2 separate regions of the Homo sapiens genome follow, and region 1 is linked to region 2. Evidence: promoter capture Hi-C in human tissues and cell types (Jung and others, 2019). All regions are on one chromosome and are shown on one strand. Each heading gives the region's core, a stretch centred on a gene start or on the middle of the fragment in contact. The rest is flanking DNA. Distances are from core to core; before and after follow the strand shown. Region 1 overlaps SPIDR (scaffold protein involved in DNA repair). Region 2 holds the start of CEBPD (CCAAT enhancer binding protein delta).

The links. The method cuts DNA at HindIII sites, captures the fragments that hold promoters and counts their contacts. A contact is called where the count stands out against the background at its distance.
Region 1: a contact is called between a fragment that was not itself captured here and the fragment with the promoter of CEBPD in region 2, in 4 of the 25 tissues and cell types used here (adrenal gland, aorta, dorsolateral prefrontal cortex and 1 more).

The regions. Positions count from the first base shown.
Region 1 is chr8:47,547,511-47,554,014 of GRCh38, reverse strand. The region is part of intron 8 of SPIDR (scaffold protein involved in DNA repair); the gene reads right to left. It also overlaps the pseudogene LOC100420532. Among named protein-coding and RNA genes, the nearest start is that of CEBPD, 190 kb to the left of the region's middle. The HindIII fragment of the contact is 3,540 bases long and covers 731-4,270 here.
Region 2 is chr8:47,733,897-47,740,638 of GRCh38, reverse strand. It overlaps CEBPD (CCAAT enhancer binding protein delta), which reads left to right and starts at 2,475. Exons shown (of 1, transcript NM_005195.4): 1 at 2,475-3,726. The coding sequence starts at 2,519. The coding sequence ends at 3,328. It overlaps SPIDR (scaffold protein involved in DNA repair), which reads right to left. Exons shown (of 20, transcript NM_001080394.4): 20 at 4,333-5,332. The coding sequence ends at 5,189. RefSeq lists silencers at 1,647-2,116, 2,207-2,286, 2,327-2,436, 2,927-3,116 and an enhancer at 2,513-3,451. The HindIII fragment of the contact is 24,041 bases long and covers 1-6,742 here.

The sequences.
Region 1 (6,504 bases), core at 1,251-3,750, 190 kb after region 2:
GGACCTCCAGCAAACTCCAACAGACCTGCAGCTGAGGGTCCTGATTGTTGGAAGGAAAACAAACAAACAGGAAGGACATCCACACCAAAACCCCATCGGTACATCACCATCATCAAAGACCAAAGTAGTTAAAACCACAAAGATGGGGAGAAACCAAAGCAGAATAGCTGAAAATTCTAAAAATCAGAGTGCCTCTTCTCCTCCAAAGGAAGACAGTTCCTTGCCAGCAACAGAGCAAAGCTGGACAGAGAATGACTTTGACAAACTGAGAGAAGAAGGCTTCAGATGATCGTAACAACAAACTTCTCCGAGCTAAAGGAGGATGTTCGAACCCATCGCAAAGAAGCTAAAAAACTTGAAAAAAGATTAGACGAATGGCTAACTAGAATAAAGAGTGTAGAGAAGACCTTACATGATCTGATGGAGCTGAAAACCATGGCATGAGAACTACGTGATGCACACACAAGCTTCAGAAGCTGATTCAATCAACTGGAAGAAAGGGTATCAGTGATTGAAGACCAAATGAATGAAATGAAGCAAGAAGAGAAGTTTAGAGAAAAAAGAGTAAAAAGAAACGAACAATGCCTCCAAAAAATATGGGACTATGTGAAAAGACCAAATCTATGTCTGATTGGTGTACCTGAAAGTGACGGGGAGAATGGAACCAAGTTGGAAAACACTCTTCAGGATATTATCCAGGAGAACTTCCCCAACATTCAAATTCAGGAAATACAGAGAATGCCACAAAGACACTCCTCGAGAAGAGCAACCCCAAGACACATAATTGTCAGATTCACCAAGGTTGAAATGGAAGAAAAAATGTTAAGGGCAGCCAGAGAGAAAGGTCGAGTTACCCACAAAGGGAAGCCCATCAGACTAACAGCGGATCTCTTGGCAGACACTCCACAAGCCAGAAGAGAGTGGGGGCCGATATTCAACATTCTTAAAGAAAAGAATTTTCAACCCAGAATTTCATACCCAGCCAAACTAAGCTTCATAAATGAAGGAGAAACAAAATCCTTTACAGACAAACAAATGTTGAGAGATTTTTGTCACCACCAGGCCTGCCATGCAAGAGCTCCTGAAGGAAGCACTAAACATGGAAAGGAACAACTGGTACCAGCCACTGCAAAAACATGCCAAATTGTAAAGACCATCAATGCTAGGAAGAAACTGCATCAACTAATGAGCAAAATAACCAGCTAACATCAAAATGACAGCACCAAATTCATACATAACAATATTAACCTTAAATGTAAATGGGCTAAATGCTCCAATTAAAAGACACAGACTGGCAAATTGGATAAAGAGTCAAGACACATCAGTGTGCTGTGTTCAGGAGACCCATCTCACATGCAGAGACACAAATAGGCTCAAAACAAAGGGATGGAGGAAGATCTACCAAGCAAATGGAAAACAAAAAAAAAGCAGGGGTTGCAATCCTAGTCTCTAATAAAACAACAAAGATCAAAAGAGACAAAGAAGGCCATTACATAATGGTAAAGGGATCAATTCAACAAGAAGAGCTAACTATCTTAAATATATATGCACCCAATACAGGAGCACCCAGATTCATAAAGGAAGTACTTAGAGACCTATAAAGAGACTTAGACTCCCACACAATAATAATGGGAGACTTTAACACCCCACTGTAAATATTAGACAGATCAACGTGACAGAAAGTAAACAAGGATATCCAGGTCTTGAACTCAGCTCTGCACCTAGCAGACCTAATAGACATCTACAGAACTCTCCACCCAAAATCAACAGATTATATATTCTTCTCAGCACCACATCGCACTTATTCCAAAATTGACCACATAGTTGGAAGTAAAGCACTCCTCAGCAAATGTAAAAGAACAAAAATTGTAACAAACTGTCTCTCAGACCACAGTGCAATCAAACTAGAACTCAGGATTAAGAAACTCACTCAAAACCACTCTACTACATGGGAACTGAACAACCTGCTCCTGAATGACTACTGGGTACATAACGAAATGAAGGCAGAAATAAAGATGTTCTCTGAAACCAATGAGAACAAAGGCACAACCTAACAGAATCTCTGGGACACATTCAAAGCAGTGTGTAGAGGGAAACTTACAGCATTAAATGCCCATAAAAGAAAGCAGGAAAGTTCTAAAATTGACACCCTAACATCACAATTAAAAGAACTAGAGAAGCAAGAGCAAAAAAATTCAAAAGCTAGCAGAAGGCAAGAAATAACTAAGATCTGAGCAGAACTGAAGGAGATAGAGACACAAAAAACCCTTCAAAAAATTAATGAATCCAGGAGCTGGTTTTTTGAAATGATCGACAAAATTGATAGACCGCTAGCAAGACTGATAAAGAAGAAAAGAGAGAAGAATCAGATAGACGTAATAAAAAATAATAAAAAGGATATCACCACCGATCCCACAGAAATACAAACTATCATCAGAGAATACTATAAACACCTCTACACAAATAAACTAGAAAATCTAGAAGAAATGGATACATTCCTGGACACATACACCCTCCCAAGACTAAACCAGGAAGAAGTTGAATCTCTCAATAGACTGATAACAGGCTCTGAAATTGAGGCAATAATTAATAGTCTACCAACCAAAAAAAGTTCAGGACCAGATGGATTCACAGCCAAATTCCACCAGAGGAACAAAGAGGAGCTGGTACCATTGGTTCTGAAACTATTCACATCAATAGAAAAAGAGGGAATCCTCCCTAACTCATATTATGAGGCCAGCATCATCCTGATACCAAAGCCTGGCAGAGACACAACAAAAAAGGAGAATTTTAGACCAATATCCCTGATGAACATCCATGTGAAAATCCTCAATAAAATACTGGCAAACCAAATCCAGCAGCACATCAAAAAGCTTATCCACCACGAGCAAGTTGGCTTCATCCCTGGGATGCAAGGCTGGTTCAACATACGCAAATCAATAAATGTAATCCATCACATTAAACAAAACCAAAGACAAAAACCACATGATTATCTCAATAGATGCAGAAAAGGCCTTTGACAAAATTCAACAACGCTTCATGCTAAAAACTCTCAATAAATTAGGTACTGATGGAACATATCTCAAAATAATAAGAGCTATTTATGACAAACCCACAGCCAATATCATACTGAATGGGCAAAAGCTGGAAGCATTCCTTTTGAAAACCGGCACAAGACAGGGATGCCCTCCTTCACGACTTCTATTCAATATAGTGTTGGAAGTTCTGGCCAGGGCAATCAGGAAAGAGAAAGAAATAAAGGGTATTCAATTAGGAAATGAGGAAGTCAAATTGTTCCTGTTTGCAGATGCCATGATTGTATATTTAGAAAACCCCATTGTCTCAGCCCCAAAGATCCTTAAGCTGATAAGCAACTGCAGCAAAGTCTCAGGATACAAAATCAATGTGCAAAAATCACAAGCATTCCTATATACACCAATAACAGACAAAGGGAGAGCCAAATCATGAGTGAACTGCCATTCACAACTGCTTCAAAGAGAATAAAAAACCTAGGAATCCAACTTACTAGGGATGTGAAGGACCTCTTCAGGGAGAACTACAAACCACTACTCAATGAAATAAAAGAGGACACAAACAAATGGAAGAACATTCCATGCTCATGGATAGGAAGAATCAATATCGTGAAAATGGCCATACTGCCCAAGGTAATTTATAGATTCAATGCCATCCGCATCAAGCTACCAATGACTTTCTTCACAGAATTGGAAAAAACTACTTTAAAGTTCATATGGAACCAAAAAGGAGCCTGCATAGCAAAGACAATCCTAAGCAAAATCACCAAAGCTGGAGGTATCACACTACTTGACTTTAAACTATACTACAAGGCTACAGTAACAAAAACAGGATGGTACTGGTACCAAAACAGAGATACAGACCAATGGAATAGAACAGAGCCCTCAGAAATAATACCACACATCTACAACCACCTGATCTTTGACAAATCTGACAAAAACAAGAAATGGGGAAAGGATTCCCTATTTAATAAATGGTGCTGGGAAAACTGGCTAGCCATATGTAGAAAGCTGAAACTGGATCCCTTCTTTACACCTTATACAAAAATTAATTCAAGATGGATTAAAGACTTAAATGTTAGACCTAAAACCATAAAAACCCTAGAAGAAAACCTAGGCAATACCATTCAGGACATAGGCATGGGCAAGGACTCCATGACTAAAACACCCAAAGCAATGGCAACGAAAGCCAAAATTGACAAATGGGGTCTAATTAAACTAAAGAGCTTCTGCACGGCAAAAGAAACTACCATCAGAGTGAACAGGCAACCTACAGAATAGGAGAACATTTTTGCAATCTACTCATCTGAAAAAGGGCTAATATCCAGAATCTACAAAGAACTCAAACAAATTTACAAGAAAAAACAACCCCATCAAAAAGTGGGTGAAGGATATGAACAGACACTTCTCAAGGGAAGACATTTATGCAGCCAACAGACATATGAAAACATGCTCATCATCACTGGCCATCAGAGAAATGCAAATCAAAACCACAATGAGATAGTATCTCACACCAGTTAGAATGGCAATCATTAAAAAGTCAGGAAACAACAGGTGCTGGACAGGATGTGCAGAAATAGGAACACTTTTACACTGTTGGTGGGACTGTAAACTAGTTCAACTATTGTGGAAGAGAGTGTGACGACTCCTCTAGGATCTAGAACTAGAAATACCATTTGACCCAACGAGCCCATTACTGGGTATATACCCAAAGGATTATAAATCATGCTGCTATAAAGACACATGCACACATATGTTTATTGCAGCAATATTCACAATAGCAAAGACTTGGAACCAACCCAAATGTCCATCAATGATAGACTGGATTAAGAAAATTGGCACATATACACCATGGAATACTATGCAGCCATAAGAAAGGATGAGTTCATGTCCTTTGTTAGGGACATGGATGAAGCTGGAAACCATCATTCTGAGCAAACTATCACAAGGACAGAAAACCAAACACCGCATGTTCTCACTTATAGGTGGGAAGTGAACCATGAGAACACTTACACACAGGGTGGGGAACATCACACACTGGGACATGTCATGGGGTAGGGGGAGAAGGGAGGGATAGCATTAGGAGATATACCTAATGTAAATGATGAATTAATGGGTGCAGCACAGCAACATGGCACATGTATACATATATAACAAACCTGCACGTTGTGCACATGTACCCTAGAACTTAAAGTATAATAAAAATAAATAAATAAACACAAAGAGGAATGAGGATATTCAAACACACAAGAAAGAATATTTCCAGTTGTCTCCTAAAATGATTTTTCATTAGTCCTTTCATCATTCTTACTTTTTCCCTTTTGTTCTGTTTTTTGAGATGAAGTTCCGCTCTGTTGCCCAGGCCGGAGTGCAGTGGTGCAATCGCAGCTGACTGCAACTTCAGCCTCCCAGGTTCAAGTGATTCTCCTGCCTCAGCCTCCCGAGTAGCTGGGATTAGAGGCACCCGTCACCACACCTAGCTAATTTTTGTATTTTTAGTAGAGACAGGGTTTCACCATGTTGGCCAGGCTGGTCTCGAACTCCTGACCTCAGGTGATCCACCAGCCTCGGCCTCCCAAAGTGATGGGATTACAGGCGTGAGCCACCACATTCAGCCAATTTTTACTTAAAAAGCTTAAGATATCATCTATTTATTCTATTTTCTTCCCTTCTTTGTGTTAATGTGCATAGCAGACTTAATCACTGCATATGTAATTATCAATTCACTTCGTCTGTATAATTCATGTACCACGAATTCATACTTTATCATATAAATTATTGAGTTTTAGTTTAAGGCAAAAGCTACTTTTTCTTATCTTCTAATTAACAATAGAAAAATGACAGAAACATTTCCAAACACTTGGAAACTAAACAACACACTCCAAAATATCTATGAGTCAAACAGGAAGTCTCAGGAAATTAAAAAAAAATACATTAAACTGAATGAAAATGAAAAGATTACATATCAAAATTGGTGGGATGAAGCGAAAGCAGTGCTGAGAGGGAATTTTATAGGGCTAAATGCATATATGAGCTCTTTCCGTGCCTAATGCAGCCATGGCTGGTGGTCCCAAGAAGCATCTAAAGTGGGTAGCAGCTCCAAATCACTGGATGCTGGATAAATTGTCCAGTGTGTTTGTTCATCGTCCATCCCCCAGTCCCCACAAGTTGAGAGAGTGTCTCCCCGTCATCATTTTCCTAAGGAACAGACTTAAGTATGCCTTGACAGGAGGTGAAATAAAGAAGATTTGTGGCCCACCGTGGCAGCTCATGCCTGTAATCCCAGTACTTTGGGAGGCTGAGGCGGGCGGATCACGAGGTCAAGAGATCAAGACCATCCTAGCCAACATGGTGAAACTGTGTCTCTACCAAAAATACAAAAATTAGCTGGGCGTGGTGGTGGGCACCTGTAATCCCAGCTACTCAGGAGGCCGAGGCTGAGCCAGGAGAATTGCTTAAACCCAGGAGGCGG
Region 2 (6,742 bases), core at 1,226-3,725:
AGGCCTAGGCAAGAACTTTCTAACCGCTTCCTGTAAAGCACCTCAATATGCATCACTGTCATGTAAACTCAACTTAGTGTTAATAAATGTAGCTTTGGGAGGCAGAGGCGGGTGGATCACGAGGACAGAAGAACGAAACCATCCTGGCTAACACGGTGAAACCCGTCTCTACTTAAAATACAAAAAATTAGCCGGGTGTGGTGTCACGGGCCTGTAATCCCAGCTTCTCCGGAGGCTGAGGCAGGAGAATCGCTTGAACCCGGGAAGCGGACGTTGCAGTGAGCTGAGATCGCGCCACTGCACTCAAGCCTGGCGACAGAGCAAGACTCCGTCTCAAAAATAAAGATAAAAATAAAAATAAAATGTAACTATATTGACTATCGGAATCAGTAAATCATCTCACTGAAAATAGTCTCTGAGTTGTTTTTAGGAGGATATGGTTATCCCTTATAAATATTGATTTTGCATTCCCTAAGTGATTAGGGAGGGCTTTAATAGTGTTTCTATGGCTTCTGAAATATATGAGAACAAAACAATTTGTGCTAGAACTTTTTCTGGATGTGCGTAAGTCCACACTCTATGCATTGCTGGATTTCAGTCTTAATAGGTAATTAATTGTGTGACATCATCATTGTGTACCCTCTGAGTAACTCTAAAGAAATATGTTTGTTCTTTAGGAAACCTATTAAATATCCCATAGTGCAACGTTAGAAATGACCTCTGGAACTGACTGCAGAAACTGCACAGCAGTTAGTAGAGCTTGGTGTTCCGACGCAGATCTGGTGAGAGGCCTGCGCAGGAAGAGACTCGACATGGAGCAGGTGTGACTAGCGATAGTGATTTAATGGATTTGGGCCCGACATGGTGGCTCACGCCTGTAATCCCAGCACTTTGGGAGGCTGAGGCCGGCGAATCTCTTAAGCCCAGGAGTTTGAAACCAGCCTGGACAATATTGTGAGATCCCATCTCAATTTTTTTTTTGAGATGGAGTCTCGCTCTGTCGCCCAGGCTGGAGTGCAATGGAACGATCTCGGCTCACTGCAACCTCCGCCTCCCGGGTTCAAGCGATTCTCCTGCCTCAGCCTCCCGAGTAGCTGGGATTACAGGCGCACGCCACTACGCTTGGCTAATTTTTGTATTTTTAGTAGAAATGGGGTTTCACCATGTTGACCAGGCTGGTTTCAAACTCCTGACCTCAAGTGATCCGCCCACCTCAGCCTCCCAAAATGCTGGGATTACCGGCATGAGCCACTGTGCTCGGCTGAAAAAAACCATATTTTTAATTTAAAATAATAAATGGGTCTGACCAGAAATGCCTGCCTCAAATTGCAGGACACATGACAAAGCCCATTCTTACTTAAGACATTTTCAGTGTGCGATGGGTCTACCGGGATGTAACCCCATCGTGAGTCGAGGCCCATCTGCACCCTGCTATAGCTACTGGTAGATCTTACCTGTTTCCCAAAAAGGACCCAACTACTTTAGGTTCAAGGCACTTTTTTGGAATATTTAACAGGGAAAGAGCCTGGAACTAAAAACAGGTCTAACGCAAGATGCCGCCACACGATGGCACTGCTTCCGTAGACCTGGAAGAAACGCGGGCGCGGGAGCTGGCGGCGGACGCCCGGGTCTGCGGGGTCGGGGAGTAGCGTCCGGCCGGAGAGCCCGCACCTCGAGGAGCCGGCGGAGGACGCGGTGTCGTGACCGCGTCTCCCCCATCTGCTCTGCTTTTGGCGACAGCGTCCCGTCGGCCTTTCGGCCAGGACGCAGCAGCCGCGTCTCTGGGCCTCGACCCCCAGGGCCGGCCGGACCCGGGACCTCCGAGGAGAGCAGCGAGAACCGGCCCGGATTCCCCGAGGCGCCCGAGTGCGGTGCGGGCAGCCCTCCCCGCCTGCCAGGCCGCCGCTGTCCCCACGTCTGGTCCCCCACGCCTCTTCCCGCATCTGGTCCCACGGTGGAGGCGCGGGGCGAGGGCCTCACGCGCGTGCCCACGGTCGGGGGGCGTCCTTGGACGCGCGGGTCCTCTCCCACGGGTCTCCACCCCCCGCCCTCCGGCGACAGGAGCCGGCCTGGGACGCGCGCGCTGCGGCCAAGTCCTGGTTTTGATTTCACTCCCAACCCCGAGGAGCGAGGAGGTTCCAAGCCCACAAACAGGAAGAAGAGAAGGCCCTGGAGTGCTGGCAGAGGGAGTGTCATTCCCAGCAGCGCAGCGCAGGCCGGCCCGGGCCGGGGAGGGAGCAGCAGCGCGGGCACCCTCCTGCAACGTGGGCTGGGGGTCCCCAGGGCCGGGGAGGGGGCCCCGGGGAGGAACTGAGAGGGGGCGCGCCCCGGGAAGGCTCGGGGCGGCTCCGGGGGGCTCCCAGGGCGCCCCCGCCCCTTCCCCCGCGGCCCCGGGGCGCCCCCGCGGTGCCGGAGTCGGGGCGGGGCGTGCACGTCAGCCGGGGCTAGAAAAGGCGGCGGGGCTGGGCCCAGCGAGGTGACAGCCTCGCTTGGACGCAGAGCCCGGCCCGACGCCGCCATGAGCGCCGCGCTCTTCAGCCTGGACGGCCCGGCGCGCGGCGCGCCCTGGCCTGCGGAGCCTGCGCCCTTCTACGAACCGGGCCGGGCGGGCAAGCCGGGCCGCGGGGCCGAGCCAGGGGCCCTAGGCGAGCCAGGCGCCGCCGCCCCCGCCATGTACGACGACGAGAGCGCCATCGACTTCAGCGCCTACATCGACTCCATGGCCGCCGTGCCCACCCTGGAGCTGTGCCACGACGAGCTCTTCGCCGACCTCTTCAACAGCAATCACAAGGCGGGCGGCGCGGGGCCCCTGGAGCTTCTTCCCGGCGGCCCCGCGCGCCCCTTGGGCCCGGGCCCTGCCGCTCCCCGCCTGCTCAAGCGCGAGCCCGACTGGGGCGACGGCGACGCGCCCGGCTCGCTGTTGCCCGCGCAGGTGGCCGCGTGCGCACAGACCGTGGTGAGCTTGGCGGCCGCAGGGCAGCCCACCCCGCCCACGTCGCCGGAGCCGCCGCGCAGCAGCCCCAGGCAGACCCCCGCGCCCGGCCCCGCCCGGGAGAAGAGCGCCGGCAAGAGGGGCCCGGACCGCGGCAGCCCCGAGTACCGGCAGCGGCGCGAGCGCAACAACATCGCCGTGCGCAAGAGCCGCGACAAGGCCAAGCGGCGCAACCAGGAGATGCAGCAGAAGTTGGTGGAGCTGTCGGCTGAGAACGAGAAGCTGCACCAGCGCGTGGAGCAGCTCACGCGGGACCTGGCCGGCCTCCGGCAGTTCTTCAAGCAGCTGCCCAGCCCGCCCTTCCTGCCGGCCGCCGGGACAGCAGACTGCCGGTAACGCGCGGCCGGGGCGGGAGAGACTCAGCAACGACCCATACCTCAGACCCGACGGCCCGGAGCGGAGCGCGCCCTGCCCTGGCGCAGCCAGAGCCGCCGGGTGCCCGCTGCAGTTTCTTGGGACATAGGAGCGCAAAGAAGCTACAGCCTGGACTTACCACCACTAAACTGCGAGAGAAGCTAAACGTGTTTATTTTCCCTTAAATTATTTTTGTAATGGTAGCTTTTTCTACATCTTACTCCTGTTGATGCAGCTAAGGTACATTTGTAAAAAGAAAAAAAACCAGACTTTTCAGACAAACCCTTTGTATTGTAGATAAGAGGAAAAGACTGAGCATGCTCACTTTTTTATATTAATTTTTACAGTATTTGTAAGAATAAAGCAGCATTTGAAATCGCCCCTGCTTCCTATATTCGCAGTGACTCCCGCCCGCCCGCCGGTGGCGCAGGACCCGGCTCGGGAAGGGTGCGTTCCGGACCCGCAGCCAGCGAGCACCAGGGAGCCCGGGCGCCAGGTGTGTGTGTGGGGGGGGCGGGGGGATGGGGCGCAGGCCCGAGCTACTCAGGAGAGAGGGTCTGTCGCTTTTAAAACGCATTAAAGGCTCTCTCCTGGCCTTATTTAACTTGCCTAAGCTAGGTGGAGCACGGCTGAGCTCAGGTAAGCTAGCAGCTTTCCAGCAGAAGGTGTTCTCCCGAAGAACGCAGACCTGGGGAAGGGTTGACTTTTTGGGGGCCCCTGCTGAGAACAGTTCAAGAGCTCCCTAACTGTAGAGGCTGCTGGAGGGGCGAGGGGCAGAACCCCGGGCTGAATCATCTCCCGCTTTCCCGGGACTTTGCTTTCACTTTCCTCAGTCTTGTGGACAGAGTCAAGTAGATTTTCAAAAGTGCTCCAGAAAGGCCGGAATAGTCATGTAGTGGATGAAAAGGGCAGTCACAAAACTGCTTAAGACCAGCTGTCTTGCCAGTAATTGCAGTGCTTTAAGATTTAATTAAAAAGCCGCCTGCCTTTAACCCAAGAACACTTGGTATTAGGGCACCATGTCTTGGTCACGGCTGCTACGTGTATCTGATGTAGTTAACCATGGCCTGTCATGATTATATTGCTATAAGGAAGGGAACAAAATCTTTATAGTGTCCAAAGATAATTAATTCTTGGTTTAAATCTTTGCCAGCAAAGCAAATATCCGACTGACTGCTCCTTAGTCTGTGATCTTTGCTCTCCGTGCACATTACCCAGCCTAATTAAAACAGGTGTGTGTGGTGGAGCCAGCTATCCCCACCACCATTCAGCAGAGACACGATCACACCAGTTCAGAGAGCTACACTTTATGGGTAACAGTTTCACCTGTGATACAGTTCCCTAGAACATTTTCCCAAAAGTAGTGAACTGCAAAGTGCTTAGGTTTGACATTTATTGTAGCAGAACAGTAATATCACAGTATGGGACAAAGGTTTACACTTTGCAGGGTATTCTTTGGGGGAATGTTAAATACTGTAATAAAAACATGTTCAATCATGGTAAAATGTTCAACTTGTTAAAATTACAAATGAACAAAAAAAATTTTTTTCTCATATATTGCCTAAATACCAAATGAAGAGCTTAAACTTAAGATTCAATGTGAAAACGAGTAAATATGTTCCTAAATTTGCAGAAAATAAAAGATAAACTGTAGAAAAAGGTATTTTGATTTACAGTTCACAAAACTGTATCTGAACATTTCCCCAGAAAAATCTAAGTTTCATTTCAAGATCGTAAACTACGTTCACTGTGTCCATAGTTAACAAATAACTACCCCAAATCACCACCACCACCACCACCCTTGCAGCCACATTGCAAAGTTCACAGATCCTGCGGCAACCGCTAGTGTTCTGCAGAGGCCCCTCCTGCACTCAGAAGCTCGATTTCCTCCAATCCAATGCAGCTGGTCGGGTGGGCGGTTACGGACTGGACAAAACAATTTAACAACCCCACTTCCTTTCCGAGGACACTCTTCACTTCGTAGCTCTGCAGTGATAAAAGGCACGCTGGTTAAAGCAAACAGCCTGGGACGTACTGTTCCCAACAACACGGAAAACCAGAGAGCCAGAGTGGAAGGCCCTTTCCCCAGTCCACGACCTTCCACTCCTCAAATGGCTGAGAACAGTGGTAGGAAGGAGAAACAAATGAAGAGCCACTACACACACACACACACACACACACCCACACACACACACACCCACACACCCATTTATTTTAGCAAGTGAAGGAACTACCCCATTCTGGTAACTGAATTGTTTTTACTTGGGACACGATGCACACAGACTCTGCTGGGAAGGCCGGGGCTGGGCACACAGTGCCCACAGCTGTCTCCCACTTCCTTTAGGACACTTCCTCAATCTAGCAACACTTCCGGTTGAGGGATTTCCTGGTGCTTTGCCCCAAACTTCCTTCCTTAATAGGATTCCATTTCTTCTAGAGTTATACTGGGCTAAAATCCTCTGTGTTTTTGTAATGAGACTTCGCTTTTTCTTCTAATTCTTTTTGGTTAGTCCCAGGTGAGTTTCGTCTCCAGATGAGACAGGTACAGGGAGTCCTTGGCCCCCATCCCTGACCAGGCTGAGAGGGTGTGGTGCACCCCATTATAGATCAAGCTGCAGAATGCTGTTGCGGGTAGGGCTGAAAATAAAGGCTCAGAAGCACTGAGATATTCCATCTCTGGCTTTCTGGGAGATTAAAGCCCTAGAAGGCAATGTCACTTGCAGAGTAATATCATGGGCACCCCACACTCCTCCTCTGTGCAAGGCATTTGGCAGTTGCTACAGCAGTTCTGTTTGGTGTCTATTAACTCACCCCTCCCATCGTTATGGTGTCATGGCCAAAGAGACTGAGGCTGGAGAAGCCAGACAACGTGGCCAAAGCAGGTAGAATGTGGCTCCTTGGTGCCCTTCCCTTCAAAGGTGTGAGTCTCACTGCCTTTCCCTGAGTTTGAGCTGGCCTCAGTGTCTGGCTTCTCATGAACACAGTGCGGTGGAAGGGACACCAAGTGATGTTCCACGCCTGGTCAGGAAAGGTGCCCAGCTTCCAGCTGGCCCGTGGGATCCACACACATGCTGTGAGGGGGTCCGGCCAGAGCTGTGGCCTGGACGTAGGAGCCTTCTGTGACTCCCACCGGCCTTGGGGGCACCCGCTAATGCCCAGTGGAGCTATCCGGATGAAGCCCTGTCCAAACAAGAGTTCTGTGCACAGAATGAATATTGATGCCACCAAGTTTTGAGATGGTTTGTTTTGTAAAAATAAATGTCAGGATCAGTCTGGGATGTGAACGCTACTGACGCCAACTCGTGGGGGGACTTTGATTTTCCCATTTGTAAGACAGGCGTGGTGCCTATTCAGTGTGCTCTGTCAAGAGTTTTGGCTTCCTTGGTGAAAAAGAAT